Linked DNA regions of Homo sapiens: regions 1, 2 and 3 are each linked to region 4. Evidence: promoter capture Hi-C in 16 types of primary human blood cells and fetal thymus (Javierre and others, 2016). All regions are on one chromosome and are shown on one strand. The core of a region is centred on a gene start or on the middle of the fragment in contact, and the rest is flanking DNA. Distances in the headings are between cores, read along the strand shown. Region 1 overlaps LCP1 (lymphocyte cytosolic protein 1). Region 2 overlaps ERICH6B (glutamate rich 6B). Region 3 has its middle 16 kb from the start of CPB2. Region 4 holds the start of SIAH3 (siah E3 ubiquitin protein ligase family member 3).

The links. Contacts are between HindIII fragments. The CHiCAGO score rates a contact against its expected background, and 5 or more counts as called.
Region 1: a contact is called between a fragment that was not itself captured here and the fragment with the promoter of SIAH3 in region 4, in 1 of 17 cell types (endothelial precursors). The highest score is 5.4, in endothelial precursors.
Region 2: a contact is called between a fragment that was not itself captured here and the fragment with the promoter of SIAH3 in region 4, in 1 of 17 cell types (M1 macrophages). The highest score is 5.0, in M1 macrophages.
Region 3: a fragment that was not itself captured here is called in contact with the fragment with the promoter of SIAH3 in region 4 in 1 of 17 cell types (endothelial precursors); the score reaches 5.2 in endothelial precursors.

Annotation. Positions count from the first base shown.
Region 1 is chr13:46,138,051-46,141,448 of GRCh38, forward strand. All of the region lies in intron 13 of LCP1 (lymphocyte cytosolic protein 1), which reads right to left. Among named protein-coding and RNA genes, the nearest start is that of CPB2, 35 kb to the left of the region's middle. The HindIII fragment of the contact is 504 bases long and covers 1,656-2,159 here.
Region 2 is chr13:45,590,638-45,594,433 of GRCh38, forward strand. ERICH6B (glutamate rich 6B) reads right to left here. Exons shown (of 15, transcript NM_182542.3): 4 at 12-60. Among named protein-coding and RNA genes, the nearest start is that of ERICH6B, 23 kb to the right of the region's middle. RefSeq lists a silencer at 2,301-2,360. The HindIII fragment of the contact is 5,237 bases long and covers 1-3,796 here.
Region 3 is chr13:46,119,404-46,122,866 of GRCh38, forward strand. No RefSeq gene overlaps it. Among named protein-coding and RNA genes, the nearest start is that of CPB2, 16 kb to the left of the region's middle. The HindIII fragment of the contact is 474 bases long and covers 1,682-2,155 here.
Region 4 is chr13:45,849,654-45,853,127 of GRCh38, forward strand. SIAH3 (siah E3 ubiquitin protein ligase family member 3) reads right to left here and starts at 2,100. Exons shown (of 2, transcript NM_198849.3): 1 at 1,842-2,100. The coding sequence starts at 1,976. RefSeq lists an enhancer at 672-1,209. The HindIII fragment of the contact is 4,746 bases long and covers 1-3,474 here.

The sequences.
Region 1 (3,398 bases), core at 658-3,157, 290 kb after region 4:
TTCATTTGCTTCAGAGCCATCATTGCCATGTGCTGGCAGCCTGCTTGCTTCAAGGGTTTTATCTGCAAGTTTATGCATATGCTGTTTGCCAACTGTCCACCCTGAGAATGATTTCCAAGCTACTGAAGGGGATAGGGAAGTTTAAGTACATATCTCTCATTTGCTCTCATAGGAAAAAATGACAAGCCATTTATTGTCCAGATAAATGACCAAATTAGCACATCAGCACAATTCAATGAAATAAATTCCAGCTAGAACCAGCTGTAAATTTAATAGATCTTTTAATATATAGCATGCAGGGAAAAAAATCCCTTCCGGTGCCATTTATATAATTATCAGTCATTACTTCTCCTTCTACAGTAATATATTTTTCTGTCTACTTTCTTAAATGCACGATTCTTATGTAGTAAACACTCATGAGAAATATGACTTTTTAACCAGGTGGAGACAGCAACAGCAGAGTGGACCTTGTTGTGTATGTGCCAGCCATTAAATAGGGCTTTGAGCCACATTTTTATAAAACATCCAAAGATCATATTGCAAGACGTTTTTCAGATATTATGAAATTTAACATAGAATGGGGTTGACCTGAGTTTGTTTGTTTGTTTTTTTCTGAGACAGAGTCTCGCTCCGTCACCCAGGCTGGAGTGCAGTGGCATGATCTTGGCTCACTGCAACCTCTGCCTCCCAGGTTCAAGAGATTCTTCTGCCTCAGCCTCCTGAGTACCTGGGACTACAGGCACGCACCAGCATACCTGGCTAATTTTTGTATTTTTAGTAGAGATGGGGTTTCACCATGCTGGCCAGGCTGGTCTCAAACTCCCGACCTCAGGTGATCCACCCGCCTCGGCCTCCCAAAGTACTGGGATTACAGTATGAGCCACCGCACCCGCTGGCTTGAGCTTTTTAATCATTAAAATAGCATATATTAAAGATTATTTAATATTGAAACCCATGAGTCAGTTTAACTGTTGCAACTAAAAGGACTTTTGCTTTGGTTTTTAAAGCAATCAGTATGAATTGCTAATCTGTTAAAAATTTAAAACTTGTGGAAGATAATAAAGATAGCTTGGAAATATCATCTGGAAATACACTGGTGAGAACAGCCCTGAGGAGTTTTCAATGATGTTCTGGATACATGCAGTAAACTAAAAGACAGAGTTGGAGTTTCTTTAGTTCTGGAGTTTTCTGCACCAGGGGAGCCTTATGACATCTGCCCCCATCATTAAAGAGACCCCAGTGTGGAAATGGGTAATGGAGCTCTATACTTAGTAAAGCAAATGTGAATCAGGGAGTGAAATCTTTTATGATCACTTCTGATTATCCTACCTTATCTGGAAATACTGACACGATTACATCCAGAGCCGGCCATTATTAGGATCTGCAGACAGTGGCTTGGAACTAAAGCTGCAGTGCCTAGGCACACCACGAACCTTGTCTTTGCCATTATCTTTCCAGACAGAATGTAATGTGACATGCAGTTTCTGGGGCTTCCTTCCAGGTAGGAAAATGAATTGAGTCACACTAACATAGGATCTAATGAGGGGATGTAAGATTCTTGCCTTGTCAGAGCTATTAGTATAGGGGGAAAGACTGAAGCATTTACAAGTAAATTATTTTATTACTTACAGAATTCCTATCTAAAAGTCTTCCCAAGCTTATGATTTTGTACCAAAATTGTTTCTTTTTCTTATAATTTATTTTCTATTTGTGTATCTTTTTATAACCTATTTTTGTTTAACTAATATCACCCTATACTTCTCACATTAGTCAAGTTTATATTCAGTTCCAAAACATATCTAAAGTTTTGTATGAAAGGAACTTCTGTTTCTGGCCATGATGGAATAACAGGGCCCACATTTAAACACTTATAATACAGTGAAAAACATATGAAACAATGTTGTTCAGACATCAGACAATAGGAAGCACAGGACAGTGGCCCCTGAAAAGAAGAAAACAAAGTTAGCCTTAAGATTTTTCCAGCATGGAAAAAGTTTCCAAGCTGCAGCATAGGAGGAGAAAACCCAAACAGCTGGCCATCCTCTTGAGTGGAGGAAACAGGGATGAGAAATGAAGGAAGCCCAGGTGCCTAGAATTTAGGGGAAAGACTATCAGAGTGGTGAGAACTGTATAGAGAGAAGAGAGTCATTCAGAAAGAAAGCTTCAGCGGCCTTCAGAGGGTTTCCCTCAGTCTTCAGCTGAGGACCACTCAGTGCACATGTGTGAGGAAACTACTAGAGGCTGTGGGGAAAAACCCACCAGAAATGAGCCACGAGAGCAATCCTTGGGGCTCACACAAGGCTGGAAAAATTTGTTCCCACCAGCTGGAGTGGAAAAATTTCATAATACATGAGCATCAAGCAAAGTACTCAGAAGACCATTTTCTCATTACTAACAAGCAAAATGAGCTCTAGATTAATTAAGCTTAAAAGTAAGCCTCAAATGGATCAAACTGTATTTAAGTTACTTAAGTCTATCCCAGGATTAAATTTAAGAATATTTAAAGGAATACAGAAATATCCAGTACACAGCAAGGTCAAATTCATGATATTTGACATATAATTAAAAAATTAGCAGCATGCAAAGAAGCCAAAAAATATGACTCATAATGAAGATAAAAATAAATTAGTAGAAACAGATCCCAAAATAAGTTACTGTAATTATTTTCTGTATGTTCAAGAAGGTAAAGGAAAGGACAGCTATGGGAAATATAAAAATGACTCAAAATTTCTATACATGGAAACTATAATGTCCAGGTTAAAAAACATGTACACTGGATGGAGTTAATGGAATATTAGACATGCAAAATAAAAGAGATTAGTGAACTTGAAAACACAGCAATACAAGTTATACAAAATGAAACATAGAGAAAATAAATCACTAAAGCATCGGTGAGCTTAGGGACAACTTTGAACGATCAAATATACATGGACTTGGAATCCCCCAGAACCAGGGCTGGTGGGTATGGAAGATATGTTTGAAGAGATGAAAGTTAAGTTTTCCAAATTTGATGGAAAGTATAAACCCATAGATTCTATAAGTTCAACAAACCTCAAGCATAAGAAACAACAATGGAGCTGGGCATGGTGGCTCATGCCTGTAATCCCAGCAGTTTGGGAGGCTGAGGCACTCGGATCATTAGGTCAGGAGTTTGAGACCAGCCTGTCCAACACGGTGAAACCCCGTCTCTACTAAAAATACAAAAATTAGCTGGGCATGGTGGCGTGGACCTGTAGTCCCAGCTACTCAGGAGGCTGAGGCAGGAGAATCACTTGGACCCAGGAGGTGGAGATTGCAGTGAGCCAAGATCACACTACTGCACTCCAGTCTGGGCGACAGAGCAAGACTCTGTCTCAAAAAAAAAAAAAAAAAAAAAGAAACAACAATGTACATCATAA
Region 2 (3,796 bases), core at 844-3,343, 260 kb before region 4:
AAAACTGTTACCTTGCATCACGAAGAAGCATGGTTTGTGATGAATAACTTGCCTTGGGTTCTATTGGAAAAAAGAATAAAAAAGCAATATTGGCAAAAAAGCATCTTTCTTTCTATTTAAAAATACGTTGTTAAGTACGTGGAGAGGGCCCTAGTTATAGAAATTTTCTATTTTTACTTTTCTTTAGTATTGTCTCTTAATGGTTTCCTTTAAAAATTACTGGGTTGAAATTTTATAAAATTAGTGAGAACTCAAGAAGATACTTTTCAGGCAATCATGGATTTTGGAAATTCGAGTTTGCTTTGCTTATCTCTATGGTTATCCCAGAAGCCTACTTCTGTATTGGGATGAAGGACATCGGTCCAGCAGAGGTGACTGAGGTGCAGGGGATATATGTATTTTAAGGATTATTTTTAATTTTAAAGGACCTGCTTGTGTCACGTAATCACCTGATTGTTTGCCTTGAATGATATGGCATAAAGAATTTCTTGTAGACTTGGGATAAATTATGCCAACAATTCTGATAATACAAAATGGCAACAGGGGAAGCAGTAGAGAAACGAGAACCAGAACATTTGAATTGGAAAGGGAAATGTGAACACTTCCACTTATCCGTAGCTTACCCATGCAAGAAAATATTATTGAGGAACATCCCTTGGCTATTAAAATGATGTCTCGGCTGGGTGAGGTGGCTCATGCCTGTAATCCCAGCACTGTGGGAGGCTGAGGCGGGCGGATCACAAGGTCAGGAGATCGAGACCATCCTGGCTAATGTGGTGAAACGCTGTCTCTACTAAAAATACAAAAAATTAGCTGGATGTAGTGGCAGGCGCCTGTAGTCCCAGCTACTCGGGAGGCTGAGTCAGGAGAATGGCGTGAACCCAGGAGGCGGAGCTTGCACTGAGCCAAGATGGCACCACTGCACTCCAGCCTGGGCGACAGAGCAAGACTCCATCTCAAAAACATAAAATAAATAAAAATAAAATGATGTCTCTAAAAATTAAGCAACATGGGCAAATGGTGAAGTTATAATACTAAGTTACAAAAGTAAAGTACTAACTTGTATAGACAGCATGTTTAAAACAGTAAAAACCAAACCACACAACAAGGACCATCACTACCAAAAATGCAAACAATGGCGGCAGAGAGACAGAATACAAATCACTTATGTGTGAATTAGCTTTATTTATATTTGAATGTTCGTGGGTTGGGGGATGTCTTTCTACTTTTTACTGTTCAAATTTTTCATTTTTTAAAAAAAGGAACAAGAAGATATTCGTTTTTTGATGTCACTTTTCTAAAATTAAAATAGGTGCACAACTTATTAAAAAGCAGAAACAAAGCATGAAAGGAGGAAGGAAGGGAGGAAAGGAGGAGAAGCGACTAGAAGAGGAGAGAAAGTTTGGGAGCCTGTCCTGGCCCTTCTAATGATTTTCTGTGACTTTGGAGTAGTCACATGCCCTCTTTCTAGCTCCAAGTTGCTCATCTGTGAAATGGGCAGGAAGAGATAATGGTTGGGACAATTAAAGGAGATACAGATTGTGAAATAGACAATATGTACCCTATGCCATCAGACTATGTTCCCTAACTTTCGCTGGGACAAGACACGTGCAGAAAATGATTCTGTTCTTTTGGGAGCACATTGGAGGCAGAAGAAACCAGCTCTGGGGCTCAGCGTTCCCCCACCCACCAGTGGCTGACTCAAGGTCACAGAGGTGAACTTCCTTTCATGAAAAGTTGGCTGGCTTTCTCATCTCTGCCTTGTTAGTATCTCTTGCACCTTTCTTCTGAAATTTCCAGAATTGCTAGGTTCCCTGTTGGAAATGGTAGTTGGGACACCAACTCTCAACTGGAAATGGCAACTGAATTACAGCATTTAGGCCAGACGGCATTTGGAGCTGCCGAGGAGGATCTAGCAGGGTAAAGAAAATAAAATTCGATGCACTATGTATATCAAAAGATTAGGCAAAAACATGATGAATCAAAATCAATGTATTGTGACATCTCTATAGCATTATTTGCCACAGGGCAGAATTTATCATTAGGAATGTCTTGGGTACTAAAAAAACTAAAAGGGGGTCTCATTATGGGGTGGTTTCACTCTACAGCATGTTCTGTGGCAGCAGGAGAGCAATGTAGCCTGGAGGCTCCTCTACTGCCTTTCTTCTTGTAAGATTAGAAGAGTATTTTATACCTTACAATTGTGTGGTACAGGGGAGTTTCAAAGCAGTTTCAGGTATGTTACTTCATTTACTTATTACAACCCACTGTGAGAAAGGTGTTTTTGCACATGGGGAAACTGAAACCTAGAGATGGTAAGTGACATGCCCAAGGTCTAGACTCCACCGTGTGCTGGGTTTTCTGACTTGGACACCACAGCACTCACACCCATGTTGTGCATCCAAAATCTGAACTCCCCCAGCAGGCCAGTCAGATGCGACCAACCAATTATTCACTGGCAATTGATGCTGCATTTATATTCAAGTTGCTCACCCAATTTTACTGGATTTCCCCATAAACTTTGGGGGGAATCAACCCTTTAAGGAAGAGAGGTGGGTGGGGGTTGTTAGTCTGATGTAACCTGATTTGTCCAGGGCTATGGGAATCTCTGAAGTTGACCGCTATAGGGTAGATGAGTGGAGGGTGCAGATCCCTCCCACAGCCTGTTTCATTGTGTCTCATCTTTTGGTTATGTCCATTTCACAAAGCAGGTAATGTGGCTAGGGGTGTGTGGCCAGGCACAAGTCAATGGCAAGGGAATAATAATACATCATGTAATATAATAATACTTATAATGGCTAACACTTGCTTAGGCCTAAAATGCTATGTGTCTGGCATATTTCTTAATGATTTACCCAATTAAATCCCTTTAATCCTCCCACACATCCTATGAGGTAGGTCTAATGCTGTTCCTATTTACAATGAAGACAACCAAGACATGGAGAGGTTAAGTCACTTGCCCAAGCTCATGCAACTAGTGAAAGGGAGAGAGCTGGCATTCAAACCTAGGCAGTCAAGCTCCTGAGAGAAAGGAAAATGTGCTCTTCATGACAGACTCCTACCTGCTATTAAGTAGATAAATAAATGACACTCAGGCACCCCCTTCACTCTCTGCTCCTGTGGCAGACATCACTAGTTGCTCACAGCACTCTTTGCTGCTGAGCCCAGACAATCCCTCAAAATTCTTCTCAACATAGTTTTCCACTACTAACCTCAAGTAGTTAATGCATCAGCATGAGAGATAAGCCCATTTGTCATATCTAGGGCTCATTTTATAGATGCCAATTAATGGATAAGGTTAAAAAAATTTGTGTGCACCCATGTATATGTGAGTGTGACTGGCTCTAGTTAGTGAATATGATCACTTGATTCAATTTACATGTACTGAGCATCTGCTATAGGTGAGGAAGGCACTCTTGTTAGTCACTGAGGTTCAACACGAGGGTAAACAAAGTTATATCTTAAGGGTATTAGGAGACTATTCTACATAAAAACATTGATATATTTTTTTGAAAAGTTAAGAAATTTCTTATACATTTTTTCTTAACCTGTTTTGTACAATCTATCTTGAAACCCTAGAATTTCATAGACCAAGACATTCTTTCATGAGCCTTGAAAGGCATTTCAGCATCTCCCTAGTGTTTTTTCAGTGCCTCTCCAATTTTTGTTAGCAGGACATTTATTTTCAAAGTGTTTGCTTTATACACAGTTCCATTCGCTTGACAGCATTGTATTTGTCCTACTCTAGTGGGTAATATATTTTCAAAGATCCAGCACATAGAGGGGACATGTTAAG
Region 3 (3,463 bases), core at 669-3,168, 270 kb after region 4:
GCTCAATAAGCTGAATGTTTATGGCAACTTTATTCATAACAATAAAAAAAAACTTGAAACAATCCAAATGACCATCAATTGGGGAGTGGATAAACAAATTGTGGTGCATTCATACAATGACATGCTACTCAAGAGTGAAAAGGACAAGACCATGGATACAAGCAACAAGGTGGAAAAACCTCAAAAGCATGATGCCAATAAAACTAGCTAGCGCTAAAAGATGTATATTGTATGGCTCCATCTATATGGCACCCTACAAAAGGCAAAACTACAGAGACAGAAAGTAGGTTGGTTTTTGCCAGAGGGTAGAGCTGGTGAAAGAGGATTAACCTTTGAAAAGGTACAGCAGAATTGTTTTGGAGTGGTGGAAGTATTCTATATTTTGATTGTGGTGGTAGGTACACAACTGTATCCTGCTAAAATTCCTCAGATTTAACACTTAAAAGTTGAATTTTATTGTATGTACAAATAGAGAATGGAAGAACAAAAGAATGAGGAAAGGAAGCAAGAAAGGAAGGAAGAAAGGGTGGGAGGGAGGAAGAACGGAAGGGAGGGAAAGACAAATTTCTTCTCATTCTTTATCCCTCTTTGAGATGCCTCTCTGTGGATCCTGTCACCTCTACTGGGGAGCAAAAAGAACACAGAAGTTGGAGCCGACGGATCCCATGCCTAGCTGGGTAATTAGGCAAATCTCAGCCTCTGGAAATGCAGCTTCTTCTGTAACCTACCTCAGAGGGCTGTTGTGAGGATTGAATGGGGTAACATTTAAACTAACTGGCAAAAGCAGGTTCTCAATATATTAAAATTCACATGAAAAAGATAAACCAGGAAGGGAGTTGGCAGGAAGCCAGGAAGCCTCCTGTGTTCTCTGCAGGAGGCTTATCTAGTTCATCAGGATCTTGGGAACAGCTAGTCTTCCTCTGCTGCATTCTGAGAGTTAGGTGATGAGTCACCACCTCAAGAGGCCATCTAGTTCTGGCCGATCTATCTGACTGGATCGTGGACCCTAGGACCCAGCTAACTTGTTCTCCAGCCAATTTAGAAGAATGAGTAGCAAAAATAATATGGCAAGTATTTCTTGAAGTGCCCTAACCCTCTGTCCTTATTAGTGTACCCTGTCAGGAGTGGCCTGCCTTGACTTTCTGTCAAACTGGAGCAGCCTGAGACTAAGGGCAAATGCCCTCTTGGCCTTGGCCGGCCACAACTTGGATATGCAGGTCAGGCTTATTGTTAGGGAAGCTCTGAGACTCAATTAATCTGATGCCTTTTTATTATGAGTTCAGGTGCAGCTCCATTTACAAGTTTTTCTTTCAAAATCATTCAGCCATTAAAGCTGCATAATCTTGGAAGGTTTTGAAGACGCATGATTGGTAAATGTTTTTCCCCTTCACACATTATCTCTCATGTTTATTCATGAAAAGTGAACCAGTCTTATAATTTAAACAGTGTCTTGGGGTATCTGGCCTCCTGTATTTCTAAGGGGGAGGAAAGATGAGGCTAGCCCAGAAGCCATTTAAAAAGGGGATTTGAGGCCTGAACGCAGAGAACTCAATCCCAGGTACTAATGACCTTGCTTTGGCTTGCAAGACTAAGCCTGAGGCCTGTGGCACTTAAGAGGGTTACTGGGTACCCAGACAGGCAAATGCCTGTTGATTGGATGGCTAAATTGTGAAGAAAGCAAAGCTTACCTGTGCAATGTGTCCATGCCTTCATTCCTACTTTCTGAATCAACAGTGCCTGTTATTGTTCTGCCCAACTGTTAAGATGTTCCACCTGTGCCTGCTCTTTGGCGCAGTACTCCAGGCTATAGATCAACATTTCTCAAACCTGGCTGCACATTAGAGTCATCTGGGGATCTTTTAAAAACCCAGCTGCCTTGGCTGCACATCTGATCATTACGTCAGACTCTTGTAGGGAGGAGTATAGACATCAGCATTGATTAAAACTCCTGAGATAATTCCAATGTGCAGTCAGGATTGAGAACAGCTGGTCTACACCAGTTCCTCTTGAAGTATGGTCTGTAAGTCACAGGCTGCAGAATCTCCTTGGATGTTTGTGGGAAATGCAGATTGCTAGGTTCACCAGCCCTATAGGCACTGAGTCTCAAGGTGAGATCTGGAAAATGTGTTTTAATAAGCTCCCCAGGTGATTCCTAAGCTTTTTGCAAGTACCGCTGCTTCTTATGATATGGCCGTTCTTGCTTCCCATCAGTTATCCTTGTCTTTCAGTTCCTCAAAGATATCAAGTTTCATTCATCCTCAGGACCACTGCATATGATAGTCGCTCTACTTGGAAGACATTTTCCTCTTTCTCCTTGTTATTAGGCATTTGGCAGACTTAACAATGAGGCTATTGTAACCCCAGAAAGTCATTGCAAAGTGCCTGCTTAGGGGGTTAAGAGTAGACACTGCAGGGCCTTGGAATAGTAATGGTTTACTATTTAATGAGTTCCCTGTCACTGGAAGTCATAGAGAGATTGCTCCAGGCATGGTGGGAGAAAAGCCAGTTTGACAGGCGGTGGAGGGATAAGAGGGAAGACTTGAGTGACGTGGCACAAACTGGGTCAGATCTATTAAAGAGGCAGCCCTGGGCAGCTGGCAAGAGATCATGTCAAGAGACACAATGCAGGTGCCAGCAGGACCAGAAGATCAGCTTCTTAGAGCGAGTGCCACCTGGAAGGGGGAAACCAAGGGAAGGGGCACAGCAAAGGGCAAAGCTGGGTGGTGGAGGAAGTACCCAAACAGAGGGAAGAGCCACTCTGGCCACATCAAGTGAATACTGATGATCGGGAAACATTCATGGGAAGTTATTTCACTCTCTCGAGTCCAGTGTAAGTGAGAAAGTGTAATTTAATTTAAAAGAGCCTAATTTAGCCTTCCATCAACTGTAGATCTTTTAACGAGACCTTTATTCTTCTAGGACAGCATTTCTCAAACTTTAATGTGCGTAGGAATCTTATTAAAATGCAGATTCTGATTCAGTACGTCTGGGGTAAGGGCTGAGATTCAGCACTTCTAACCGGCTCCTAGATGCCCCCGGTCTGAGCACTACACTTAGAGCAAGCAGGTTTGAACATTGCGACTTATAACAGTGGACCCATGGTGTAGACAAGTCCAGAAATGACTGCTGAATCAACAGTTTTTATGTTAGCTTCCGTATACCTTCAGAATTCAGTGTTTGTGTGCATTCTAATTCTCTAAATGATGTATATTAGATTTCCATTAACGAAAATATATGTTTAAGTGGAACTCTCCAATTCCAACTTGCCAAATAAAATAAAAAATTCCTGTCATTTTACTGACCTGTCTCTGAGTTGTTAATGGTGACATGCTGGGCAATGACTAGGTTACCTGTTTTTGTCCCTGGCCTGATGTGGGTTATTAAATATATGTAGATGTTAGGCATGAGAAAACATTTACGCAGTTTTCTTTTTGTCACTCATTCACAGGCTCAGTTGGTAAAC
Region 4 (3,474 bases), core at 850-3,349:
GTCAGGGCAGCAAGACGACTTGTCAAAATCCAGGCAGACATCATTGAGAAATATACACAAGTGGTTTCCCCTCACTCCACACAGAGACCTTAACACCTCTCTATTCTCCATCATCAGCTGCAGTCAATGAACCATATAAATGCAAACTTCAGAAATGCTAAAGTCTCATAAGCAATTTTTAAAGGTATTAAAATACAAAACAGAAGTAAACAAAATTTCTTGCCCCAGGGAACTAACTAATCCAAAGTGGAAAAAATAATGGAAGTTTGAATGCAGTCTCAAAAGTGGCCATAAAATGGAATTCAGAATTTTATTTTAATGTGCATACTACATACTTGCTTTGCCAAGGATGACTGGTAGTAAATTCTCATTTATAAAACTAAGCTATAAAAGAAAAAAAGAAATAGTGGAATGAGAGGCAAGAGCGCGCAAGCAAGAGCAGGTGTGAACGGTTGCATGCGATGGCATTCGTCACAGCTGGGATATCAGAGAGAGTCAGATCCTAGGTCAGATGCACCATAGGGGTCCCAGGATAGTCCATCGCCCCTCCCCCAGGACTGGCCTTGGCATGTAACCCCAGCAGCTCCAGGCAGCTGTCTTTCGGCGGAACTTCTAGGAGTGGGGGCACCCATCAGCGCTGACCTGCGGGGCTCCAGCTGAGGACAGTCCGGCCGTGGGAGTTTATAAAGTAATGGACAACAGGCAATGCTCTTCCTGCCCAACAGCAGTGGTCAGAGGGACAGATCTATCCTCACAGAGACTGTCAGGCACTGTCGCTACAGACACGGCCCCTCCCCCGGCACTCAGTCCTGCCTGCCTTACACAGGAGTACAGGAAAGGAACTTCCAATGAGTCCATCTTTTATGTTAGGAGAGAGGCAAGGTGCTGAGTTTCCCATCCGGGGAGTTCAGCTGCACCCTCTCCCCAGCCCCCACCTCCCTGACTTCCCCTCCTCCCTACTACCCCTAACCAGTGGCCCATCATTCCTTTCCCAGTCAGTCTTGGCTGTGATGTTAAGCGGCTCTGCCGGACCCCATATTTTGTCTGGTCTCTAAAAGGGCACTGACCTGAGGGTACAAATGCAGAGGCCCCGGGGCAGCTAGGCAGCCGCGAGCAACCCAGCACCCAGCTGCCTAGGGTGCTCCAGGCAGCGGCGGCAGCAGCTAGAAGCTGGTGTCATTATTACACAAGCCAGGCAAATCCTGCTCCAGTACACAGAGCGCATCTAACCAGCAGGAAGGAAATAAGCCAAAATCCTCCCGACACCACACACACACACACACACACACACACACACACACACACACACACGAGTCTGAGGACAAGGACAAACACTTTGCAGAAAGAACCCTCCCCCCACCCCACCGACGTCCAAGTCCCTGTTTCAGGATTCCTCACCCCCCAGTAGCTTCTAAAATCCTCGTGTTTGACCACCTCTCCCAACACATGGGACAGAGAGAATTTGGCTAACTTCAAATCCTGTCTCCTGAGCACTTGCCCACAAATAGTAGGGGGAGTGATGGGGACGCCCCCCTGTTCCCTCCACCACCCTCACTTCTGCCCCCCACGCCACTCTCAGGTTGACAGCGTCGGGGAAAGACATCAGACCATCAATCCAGCTTTTCCTGCCAGCTGGGGAAACAACACTCGGTCACTAACAGCACCCAATCACCTAGAGAGCGAGAGTGAGCCGAGGCAAACACGCCGGGTTCCAGACACCGTCCCAGCCCCCGAGACCCGGGTTTGCAAAGGGCTGCACACGTTCGCCGGAGGGTCGCTGCCGCCTCCGAGAAAGGACTTGAACCTGAGCCCGGTGAAGGTAAAATGACACAGAGACTCACCTTTAGGTTGTGTGTGGGGTTGACGACACAGACAAGTTGCCCGGCAGCGGAGAAAACCCGTTTAGCCTTGTAGTGCTGAAACCGGAGATGAATGAGATCTAATACAGCCCCAAAGCACTGGGTAAAGAAAAGCATCACAACTTTTGGGGGGTTGTTGGTCCGGGAAGGCAGCGGAGGAAGCTGTGAGTCCTTGGGCCCTGGAAGGAGCGCAGCCTCTGAGACACTCCGCTCCAGCCCGGCTTAGCGCGCCTTCATATTCATCATCAAAATAAGACGGTTAGAATCTTGCAGCAGTGAGGCGGCCAATCAAAAGGACAGAAATGTTATCCTTGAGGTGCAGAGACAGCCAATAACAAATGCCTTCCCTACCGAAACTCCCTGATGAATTGAGCCTGGCGGAGAATGTATTATTGAACATTACCATAGATCAGCACATTGCATTTATCTTGTGATTACAGCCAACCATACCTAATGCTGGGGAGATAGGCTGACAAAATTGATTGCTTAATGTGTCTCCATTTATTAATTGACTTAATTTAACATGAGAGCCTTTCTTAATGCCCTGGCAAGAACGTAAAGCGTTTAAGCCGCCAAATAGTACAACACCCCGCTCCAAAGTAGGCAGATGGATAACGCAGATCATGGCTCGACTCACCAGAGCTGCTTGGGAGAAAATAAAATATTACTAGACTCTGAATCCAGATAAGGACTTGGCAGCAGCAAAAATGTGTATCTTTCAATCTTGCGTTCTGACTTTCTGCAATTTGGATTACAGCCCCTTGATAAATCTTACTCTCCACTCTTTATCAAAGAAAAGAATCCCTGACAAATTCATTTGGAGTTGAGGGGTGGAGGGAAGCACATACATATATATTACTATACATATATATATATTTTCTTTTTTTCAAAATACTGTGATTACTGAAGTCTGAAAGTATTAAAGGATAAAAATGCACAGAGTATGCTTCAAAAAATAATGAAATCCCTGATGCATGAATGCACACACACAGAAAAACCTACACTGAGAGGAAAGAGGCTTGTAAATCAGCAAAATAATTACAGATGCAGAGAACCTTTGCTTGTCATTCATTTGCATATTGGTGGGCAGCAAATTGCTAATTAACCACTAGATTGCTGGAGACATTAAAATAGAGATTAAGGATGCACATACCACATCATTTACTTGTTTCTGCAAATGCTAGCAGCACATTTCTGTGCTGGCACAGGCAGAGGGCATTCCAGTCCTCAGACTGCAAACCTGTCCTTGCTCCCCAGAACAGGGCTGGTGGGTGGGCGGGAGGCCGCTGGTTCTTGAAGAAAGATTCCTAAGCAGTACTTGAAGGGTTTTGGGTTTTTCGGGACTAGCTCTGATGGTTTAGTCTTTGCAGCTAAAGCAGGGGAGTTCAGTGTATTGTGTTTTCCCTCTTCCCTGGTTGTTTCTCTCTTGAGAAGTCAGGCCAGATCCAGTGCTGCCTGGAGCAGGATCAGCCCCCACTGTGAATTGTACCCTGTGAGTGTGAGCCCCCTCCCTCATGGCTCTTGTTCTGCTCTGGCTACAATGCTTGGGTTGTAATGTATGCAAAACATATGCACACGTGGAACACCTAGGTCTGTGACCTGGTCAGGCAGTTAA